Linked DNA regions of Homo sapiens: regions 2 and 3 are each linked to region 1. The links are contacts of gene promoters, found by promoter capture Hi-C in human tissues and cell types (Jung and others, 2019). All regions are on one chromosome and are shown on one strand. Each heading gives the region's core, a stretch centred on a gene start or on the middle of the fragment in contact. The rest is flanking DNA. Distances are from core to core; before and after follow the strand shown. Region 1 holds the start of BICC1 (BicC family RNA binding protein 1). Region 2 overlaps BICC1 (BicC family RNA binding protein 1). Region 3 overlaps BICC1 (BicC family RNA binding protein 1).

Region 1 (2,982 bases), core at 191-2,690:
TCAGTTCTTCAGGAGGTGACTCTGGGCAGGAGGGGTCTCCGCTCAAAAAGGTAAGACTTTATATAAAGACCCACAGACCTGGGTCTGATTAATTGGCTGTATTATCTGCTGCTGGACAACCTTAGTCAAGTTACTTTATTTCCCACGGTCTCAGTTTCCTCATCTGTACCCATCACAGGGTCAATTCCTGTTAACTAGGCAGCTGAACCTGAAATAATTTTGATTTACCTTCAGCATATTCCATGATTATCCAGAGGCCTGTGCCAGTGATATGGCTCTTCCTACATGTGAGCCAGGCAGCCTCCTTCTGTGGCGCAGTGACAAACTGCTATCCCCATCATTCCTCCCCGCAAGTCTTTGTACTTTGGGTCATAAAATAATAGGCTATGAATCTGTGTGAACTGGGAAAACAGAGTTCCAAGGGCACACCCAGTACGAGCGAGTCTCCTCTTCCCCCGCGCTTCATATCCAAGCTTGACAGAGGCCGTGGGTGGGCTGGCCCTCGGCAGTGAGGCTCAGAGGTTACTGGCCGTCATCTGTCAGAGACTGACCTTGAAAACAGAGAAAAGCCCTCAGTCCCTGACAAGACAGCCCTGCCCACGTGCCAGCTGGATCCAGCTCGCCAACACAGCGATCTCCGAGCCCCTTTTCTACTTAAAAAAAAAAAAAAGTCTGCTGAGTCCATTCCTTGAGAATCACAGAGAAAACAATTCCTTCCTTACTCCATTCAAGAAAAAAAAAAATTCCCTTTCTCAGAATAAAAAGAGTAAGCCTCTTGTCCACCTCTCGTGCAGCGGGCCACTTTGCTGGGAGGAGACGAGGTGTCTGGGTTTGAGCCCTTCCTGGAGGTATGAACTACATGCGAGCCACGTCCATGGCGATGCCTGCGAAAGACGGGCATGATTTCTTCTCCAAGCCTTCTTTTTCCTCTTCCTCACGTTCGAGCTTGTGGAACCAACTGGGGCTGTGAGTTTCAGGGTGTAGGGTATGTATGTAAACAGCGGAATTGTGTATGCGCTTAGTGTGCGTTCAGGACTCTGCTGTGCTTGAACTTGGCGTGTTTGTGTTTGTGTGTTTGGAGGATTATGAGAGCATGTAGGGGGAAGAGATTTGTATGTGTAAGTGCAGAAAAGTAGTAGTGTGTGTGATGTGTGTGTGTAGACAGGAATTACGTGGATACTCCATGTGCGTTCAGGAGTGTGTGTGTTTGAGGAGCTATGAAAGTGCATGTATGGAAAGGATTTATACGTGTAAGTGCAGAAAGTGGCAGTGTGTACGTGGTGTGTGTGTGCGCGCGCGAGTGTGTGAGCGCCAGGGGCCGCCCGCCCGCCGCGGCTCCCCGTGGGCTGGCCGGGCCAATGAGCGCGCGGCTGTAGGGGCGGCGGGCGGGGAGGGGGCGCCGAGCCCTGCGGATGGAGGCGCGGGCAGCGCGGCGCGCTCATTCCGCGCGGGCGTTGCTGGCGGGGGGCGGCGCAGCCACTGGACCCGGACCGGGGCCGCGACCCGGGGTGGCGGGTGGCGTGGGCGGCGCCCGGGGCTGGGATGCGCCGGGGGCTCAGTGGCGGCGGCGGCGTTGGCGGTGGCGTCGGCGGCTGCAGGGGGACGAGCTAGCGCCGCGGCGCTGGGAGCCAGTTGAGCCCGGCCGGCGAGCGGAGGCGGCAGCGCAGGCAGAGCGGCGGCGGCAGCGGGAGCCCGAGCGCTGCGCGCCCACCATGGCCGCCCAGGGAGAGCCCGGCTACCTGGCGGCGCAGTCGGACCCCGGCTCCAACAGCGAGCGCAGCACCGACTCCCCAGTGCCCGGCTCCGAGGACGACTTGGTCGCCGGGGCGACCCTGCACAGCCCGGAGTGGAGCGAGGAGCGCTTCCGCGTGGACAGGAAGAAACTTGAGGCCATGTTACAAGGTAGGCATCCCTCGTGTTCTCGGACTCTCCGACTGAGCCTCTAACTCCTTTTCGGACATCCCCACCGCGCGCTCCGGCGCCCGCTACTCCAGCCTACGGCCGGCCGGTTTAGCTCCAGGCCCGCTCCCCCGCGGAGCCGGAGGACACCCAGGGACTGGAGACTTCGCGGGACTCCCCACCCTTCCACGCCTCTCAGATTTCCAGGCGCTGGGGGCCCTGTGCGAACTTGACTGGCTTCAGAAAAGCCGAAGGCCGAGTTTGTACTGGCGCGCCCAAGTTGCGTTCTGGACTTTGGAGATGCCAACTTTAGCCCGGACACCTGGGCTGTGCCATCCGGACCACTCGGGCCGCACAGAGTATGCGTGACCCTCCCCATTCCCTGGCAGCCTCGAGTTCTGTCTCTCTCCGTCTGTTTCACTCTCTCCCCTTGTCAGTATCCACTTCCTCCAGCTGAGGGGCCTTGTCTCACTATTGGGAAACGCTCTGCAGATGTCAAGGCTTAAGACAGGAGCTCCCGCCCCCACCCCTGTGGTCAAGGAGGGCCAGGATCGGGGTGAGCAGCCAAAGCGAGGGGGGAGTGTGGAGGCAGTGCTGCTGTGTTTGAGGACAGTGTTCATCTCTTGACAGGCTTATAAAACACATCTTGAGTTACATTCAGTCCATAAAAATCTTCCTATGCTATGGGTGTCTGACTTTGTCTTTCACAACTTAGAATTATTTTTAACTCTTTAATTTCTTTGGGACTTTCCCAGGTAGAAAATCTTCAACCATACTGGACCGAAAACAGATTCTGATTTATAATACGAGTGTTGGAGTGAACGTCAAAACGTCCAAGGTCATTTTGACCTTTCTTAAAACAGATAATTACTAGCCTACCTGTAGCCACCGATGTGGCTCATTTCCCACATCCAAAGAGAGAAATGAGTTAGTTTGAATGACTGTTATTCTTAAAATACGTGTACGGGACCAGGCGTTAGTCTCACTTAGGGCGCTGGTGAAGATTCATTCAGTAGCTAGTGTTCTTTTATCATGGAGGAGTTTGGAGTTTTTCAAACGTTATTTGTGGCTTTATGCATAACT
Region 2 (2,982 bases), core at 178-2,677, 220 kb after region 1:
GGCTGTGGCAATTTCTTACGAAAGTCAACAATGAAGTTTGCCCCATCAATGGACTCTTCCTTCCATGAAAGATTTCTCTGTAGCATGTGATGCTGTCTAATAGCATTTTATTCAGAGTAGAACTTCTTTTACAATTGTCATCAATCCTCTGAAACTCTGCCACTGCTTTATCAACTAAGTTTATATAGTATTATACATTTTTGGTTTTCATTTCAACAATCTTTGTAGCATCTTCATCAGAAGACAAAGAACCCATGTTCTTTGCTTATCCATTAGAAGCAATGTCTCATCCACTCAAGTTTTATCCTGAGATTGCAGAAATTCATTTATATCTTTAGGCTTAACTTCTAATTACAGTTCTCTTGCTGTTTTCACCACCACTGCAGCTACTCTCTTTACTGAAGTCTTGAACCCCCTCAAAGTCATCCATGAGAGTTGAAATCAACTTCTTCCAAACTCCCGTTATAATTGCTATTTTGACCTCCTCCTATGAATCATGAATGATACATAGAATAATACATCCTTTCCAGAGGTTTTCAATTTACTTTGCCGCAATCCATCAGAGGAATAACTGTGTCAGCTATAGTCTTACAAAATGTATTTCTTAAATAATAATAATAATAATACTTGAAAGTCATAATTACTCCTCTATCCATGGGGTACAGAAGGAATATTGTGTTAGCAGGCGTAAAAACATTAATCTTTTTGTACATCTTCATCAGACCTCTTTTGTGACCAGGTGCATTGTCAATGAGCAGTAATATTTTGTTTTTTATTTTAATATTAAAAAAAGGAATCTTTTTTTTCTGAGCAGTAAGTCTCAACAGTGGGCTTAAAATATTCAGCAAATCATACTGCAAACACATGTGCTGTCATCCAGACTTTGTTACATTTATAGAGAACAGGCAGAGTAGATTTAGCATAATTCTTGAGGATTCTGGGATTTTGGGAATGGTAAATGATCATTGGCTTCGACTTGTAGTCACCAGCTGCATTATCCCCTGTCAAGAGCATCAGTCTGTCTTTGAAAGCTTTGAAGGCAGACACTGACTTCTCCTTTCTAGCTAGGAAAGTTCTAGATGACACCTTTTTTTCCAACAGAAGGCTGTTTTGTCTACGTTGAAAATTTGTTGTTCAGTGTAGTCACCTTCATCAATTTTCATAGCTAGATCTTCTGGATAACTTGCTACAGCTTCTACATCAGCACTTGCTGCTTCACCTTGCATTTTAAAATTATGGAGATGGCATCTTTTCTTAAACTTTATGAACCTGTCAGTCTTAGCCTCCAACTTTTCTTCTTTAGCTTCCTTACCTCTCTCAGCCTTTAGAAAATTGAAGAGAGTTAGGGCTTTGCTCTGGATTAGGCTTTGTTGTGGCTTCTTACATTTTCTATTCAGATCACTAAAACTTTCTTCATATCAGCAATAAGGCTTGTGTTTGTTCCCACACAGCTTTAAAGAAATACCTGAGACTGGGTAATTTATAAAGAAAAGAGGTTTAATTGGCTCATGATTCCACAGGTTTTACAGAAGGTATGGTGGCATCTCCTTCTGGGGAGGCCTCAGGGAGCTTTTACTCATGGTGAAGGCCAAGTGGTAGCAGCCATCTTACATGACAGAAGCAGGATGAAGAGAGTGAAAGAGGCAGAGGTGCTACACACTTTTAAACAACCACATCTCGCAAGAATTCACTCACTATTGTGACGACAGTACCAAGGGGGACGCTGTTAAATCATCCATGAAGAATCCACCCAATGGTCCAGTTGCCTCCCACCAGGCCCCACCTCCAACATTGGAGATTACAATTCAACATGAGGTTTTGTGAGGACACAGATTTAAACCATATCTTTCTCCCCTGACCCCACAGATCTCATATCCTTCTCACATTGCAAAATACAATCATGCCTTCCCAACAGTCCCCCAAGTCTTAACTCATTCAGCATTAACTAAGATGTCCAAAGTCTCAGGTCTCATTTGAGACAAGGCAAGTCCCTTCTGCCCATGAGCCTGTAAAATCAAAAACAAGTTAGTTACTTCCAAGATACAATGAAGGTATAGGCATTAGGTAAAATACTCCAGTTCCAAAAGGTAGAAAACAGCAAAAAAGGGGGTTACAGGCACTATGCAAGTCAGAAACCCAGCAGGACAGTCATTAAATCTTAAAGCTCCAAACAAAATAATCTCCTTTGACTTCATGTCCCACATCCAGGGCACACTGGCATGAGAGGTGAGCTCCCAAGGTCTTGGGGAGCTCTACTCCTGTGGCCTTGTGGGGTTTAGCCCCTGTGGCTACTGTCATGGGCTGGCATTGAGTGCCTGTGGCTTTTCCAGTGCAGGGTGCAAGTTGCCAGTGGTTTACCCTTCCAAGGTTTGGAGGACAGTGGCCTTCTACTCACAGCTCCACTAGGCAGTGCCCCAGTTGGGACTCTGTGTGGGAGCCCCAACCCCACATTTCTCCTCCACACTACCCTATTAGAGGTTCTCAGTGAGGGCTCTGCCCCTGTAGCAGGCTTCTGCTTGGACATCTAGGCTTTTTCATATATCCTCTAAAATCTAGGCAGAGGCTCCCAAGCCTCAGTCTTTCTTTCTGTGTCCCTGTGATCTTAACACAGTGTAGAAACCACCAATGCTTCTAGCCTGCACCTTCTGAAGCAGAGTCCTGAGTGGTACCTTTGCTCTTTTGAGTCAGGGCTGCAGCTGGGGCAACAGGGATACTGGGAGCAGTGTTCTAAGGCTGTGCGGGGTTGCAGGGCCCTTGGCCTGGCCCAGGAAACCATTCAGCCCCCCTAGGCCTCCCTGCCTATGATGGGAGATTATGCAAATTCCTGCAGCCTGCTTGAATTCCTCCTTTGAAAATGGGCTTTTCTTTTCTAACACAGAAGCAGGCTGCAAATTTTTCCAAACTTTTATGTTGTGCTTCCCTTTTAAATAAGAGTACCAGTTTCAGATAACATCTTTGCTCATGCATATGAGCATATGTTAT
Region 3 (2,982 bases), core at 297-2,796, 180 kb after region 1:
GCCGGCTTCACCTCTCACCGGCAATCTCATTACTGGGTATATACCCAAAGGATTATAAATCATTTTGCTATAAAGACACATGCACACGTATGTTTATTGCAGCACTATTTACAATAGCAAAGACTTGTAACCACCCGAAATGCCCATCAATGATTGACTGGATAAAGAAAATATGGCATATATACACCATGTAATACTATGCAGCCATAAAAAATAATGAGTTCATGTCCTTTGCAGGGACGTGGATGAAGCTGGAAACCATCATTCCCAGGAAACTACACAGGAACATAAAACCAACCACCACACATTCTCACTCATAAGTGGGAGCTGAACAATGAGAACATATGGGCACAGGGAGGAGAACATCACACACTGGGGCCTGTTGGGGAGTGGGGGGCTAGGGGAGGGATAGCATTAGGAGAAATACCTAATGTAGATGTCGGGTTGATGGGTGCAGCAAACTACCATGGCACATGTATACCTGTGTAACAAACCTGCACATTCTGCACATGTATCCCAGAACTTAAAGTATAATAACAACAACAACAACAAAAAACAAGAAAACATGTATTAAGAAAGAAAGAAAGGTTTTTGGTGCTAATGATCAAGAACCTTTCTGCGATATCATCTAGGATCTAGGATCCAGGATCCAGGTGTTTTCTGACTCTGTCTTTCACACTGATGGTTGGTACTCCTTATGGCTCATGGGTGGAGCCTGTGGCATCAGGGCTACCTGTGCCTTTGTTCACATGTGGTAAGAGAAAGAGAGAACTTAGTAATTCTCTTACAAAGCCAGAAAGCTTCATTCTCAAAAGCTTCCATGAGACCTCTTCTCCCTTGTCTGTGGCCCAGATTGGATCACGTGCCTATTGGTAAACCAACCTATGGGAATGGGAGTGGCATCCCTTTTAGATAATCAGGTTGATTCCAGGATTCTGGGTAGACAGCTTAAATGTTCACTTGTGCACAGAAGATTGAGTGCAGTTTAAACATGTCAAGGAGCTGGTGGCATAACAAGGTTGCAACTTGCTTCAGAGGTTACATTTATGAGTCTGGATTCTGAAAGGAGCAATATGTGTTTTAAAGGAAAAAAGCAAGAGACAGTGTTCTTGAATTCTTCAGTGTTTTCAGACTCTTTCTGTGAATGTGTTACTCTGAAAGTTTGTAGTAGTACAGACCTGGCCAGTTTTGTACAAGCAAAGCGGAGCAAACATTCAGTCCACTGATTCCCAAGGTGCTGAGGACAGAAGTTAGTGGAACAGTCCACGGTGGTGTAAGCTGAGTACTGACACTTTCCTCATTTACCAGCTAATTCTCCCTTTTACCATTTGATTTGACTTTGCCGAAATTGGTCAGATGGGTAAGGTTTGGGTGGCTGAAGCATATGACACTTTTCAGTTTTAGAGCTCATTAGGTGTTTTTTACCAGTATTTCAACTTGATGCATTACAAATTTGATATAATTCAGGGAAAGGACCTGTATGGGATAAGAAGTAATCAAAATTATTCTGACCTTTTTATGTAGTGTTTCACCATAAACATATTGTTTACTTTTGTCTCTTCTTTAAGGAATATATACAGCATTAAAAGATGAGAGTTAAGTAAACTCTGGGCTATCATACAGTGGAATATGAATAAAATACATACATACACACACCCCCTTCCTTAATCCCTCCCCACACCCCTAAACTTTTCTGGCAGAGGCAGTCGTGCCCACCAAATATTCTAATTGCTTTCCGCATTTCCCAGCCACCTTTCAGTTGCGTGGGCATGTGTCTCATGATGGACAATGGGCTGTGAAAGAGATACATTTTTCTTACAGGCCATGGCAGTAAAAGATCCATGCAGAATTCTTCCTGTTTTTCTCCCATGAGGAGACTGAAGGGACCATGGATTCCAGATGGGCAGCTATAAAATGGAAGGATCTCTGTTAGTTTGAGTCGCTGAGTGACTGTGTGAAGCCTGTGTGGAGCTGAGCCTCTTGTTGACCCTTGTAGGCCATTTAACATGGGGGAGAAATGAACTTTTGTTCTGTTCATCCACTGGCATTTGGAATTGTTACAGGAGCACAATGAATACATACCTCCTTTCAATATTTACTCTTTGTCTGGAAGCACCTTTCTCAAACCTAATCCTTACCTCCTTGCCTGCTCACCCAGTAGAGCCTACATAAAAGTTTCTCTCTTTTTGATATCTCAGTGTTGCCATTATAGATCTCAGTTATTGTGCTGATCTGTTATTACTCATCAGCATAGATGCCATCAGGACCTACTAAGCTAAGTAGGGTCATTTGCTTTAAGAGATGAACTGAGTTGAGTAGTAAAATGTATTCCCTAAAAAAGCATGTGTGAATCTACAGTAACTGGAGTAACTAGTCTTATGAAAAATTGGAGACTAGAAAATTGCATTCAAGGTTTGGTAGCTTGATATTTTGTTAAATCAGTACTATTTCCGTTCCTCCCCCAAGTTTGTTTAGTTTCATTTTTTAAAAAGACTTTATTGAGGATAATCGACATAAGAAGGTGTACATATTTAATGTATACAACTTGATGAGTTTGGAAATAAGTATATATCCAAGAGACCATCACCACAAGCTATCCACCCTCTCTGAAAGTTTCCTCCTGTCCTCTTTATTATTGTTTTTTTCCTGAGAAAAACACTTCATATAATATCTACCCTCTTAGCAAATTAAGTATACAGTACAGTGTTGTTATCTCCAGGCAGTGTGCTTTACAGTAGATCTCTAGGAATTATTTGTGTTGTCCAAATTATACACTGTTGTATTCAAGTTATATACAAGTTGTACCTTGATAGTTCAAGTTTAATAAATCTCTTTGTAGTTACCCATGAGATCTGATAGAAGATCTGGCTAATATTTCTGAAGAAATTATTCCTTGGAGAATGAAGTAGCTTTTAGAAACATATTTTTATGTCCCAGAGGAACCCCAAGACCTGTTCTTCACTAACATTATAGGCCGTCATA

The links. Contacts are between HindIII fragments. The study calls those that stand out against the background at their distance.
Region 2: a fragment that was not itself captured here is called in contact with the fragment with the promoter of BICC1 in region 1 in 2 of the 25 tissues and cell types used here (dorsolateral prefrontal cortex and hippocampus).
Region 3: a contact is called between a fragment that was not itself captured here and the fragment with the promoter of BICC1 in region 1, in 2 of the 25 tissues and cell types used here (IMR-90 fibroblasts and dorsolateral prefrontal cortex).

Annotation. Positions count from the first base shown.
Region 1 is chr10:58,511,432-58,514,413 of GRCh38, forward strand. BICC1 (BicC family RNA binding protein 1) reads left to right here and starts at 1,441. Exons shown (of 21, transcript NM_001080512.3): 1 at 1,441-1,902. The coding sequence starts at 1,713. It overlaps LOC124902427 (a long non-coding RNA gene), which reads right to left and starts at 621. Exons shown (of 2, transcript XR_007062147.1): 1 at 229-621. The HindIII fragment of the contact is 7,114 bases long and covers 1-2,982 here.
Region 2 is chr10:58,728,098-58,731,079 of GRCh38, forward strand. All of the region lies in intron 3 of BICC1 (BicC family RNA binding protein 1), which reads left to right. Among named protein-coding and RNA genes, the nearest start is that of BICC1, 220 kb to the left of the region's middle. The HindIII fragment of the contact is 3,764 bases long and covers 1-2,982 here.
Region 3 is chr10:58,688,494-58,691,475 of GRCh38, forward strand. All of the region lies in intron 2 of BICC1 (BicC family RNA binding protein 1), which reads left to right. Among named protein-coding and RNA genes, the nearest start is that of BICC1, 180 kb to the left of the region's middle. The HindIII fragment of the contact is 7,285 bases long and covers 1-2,982 here.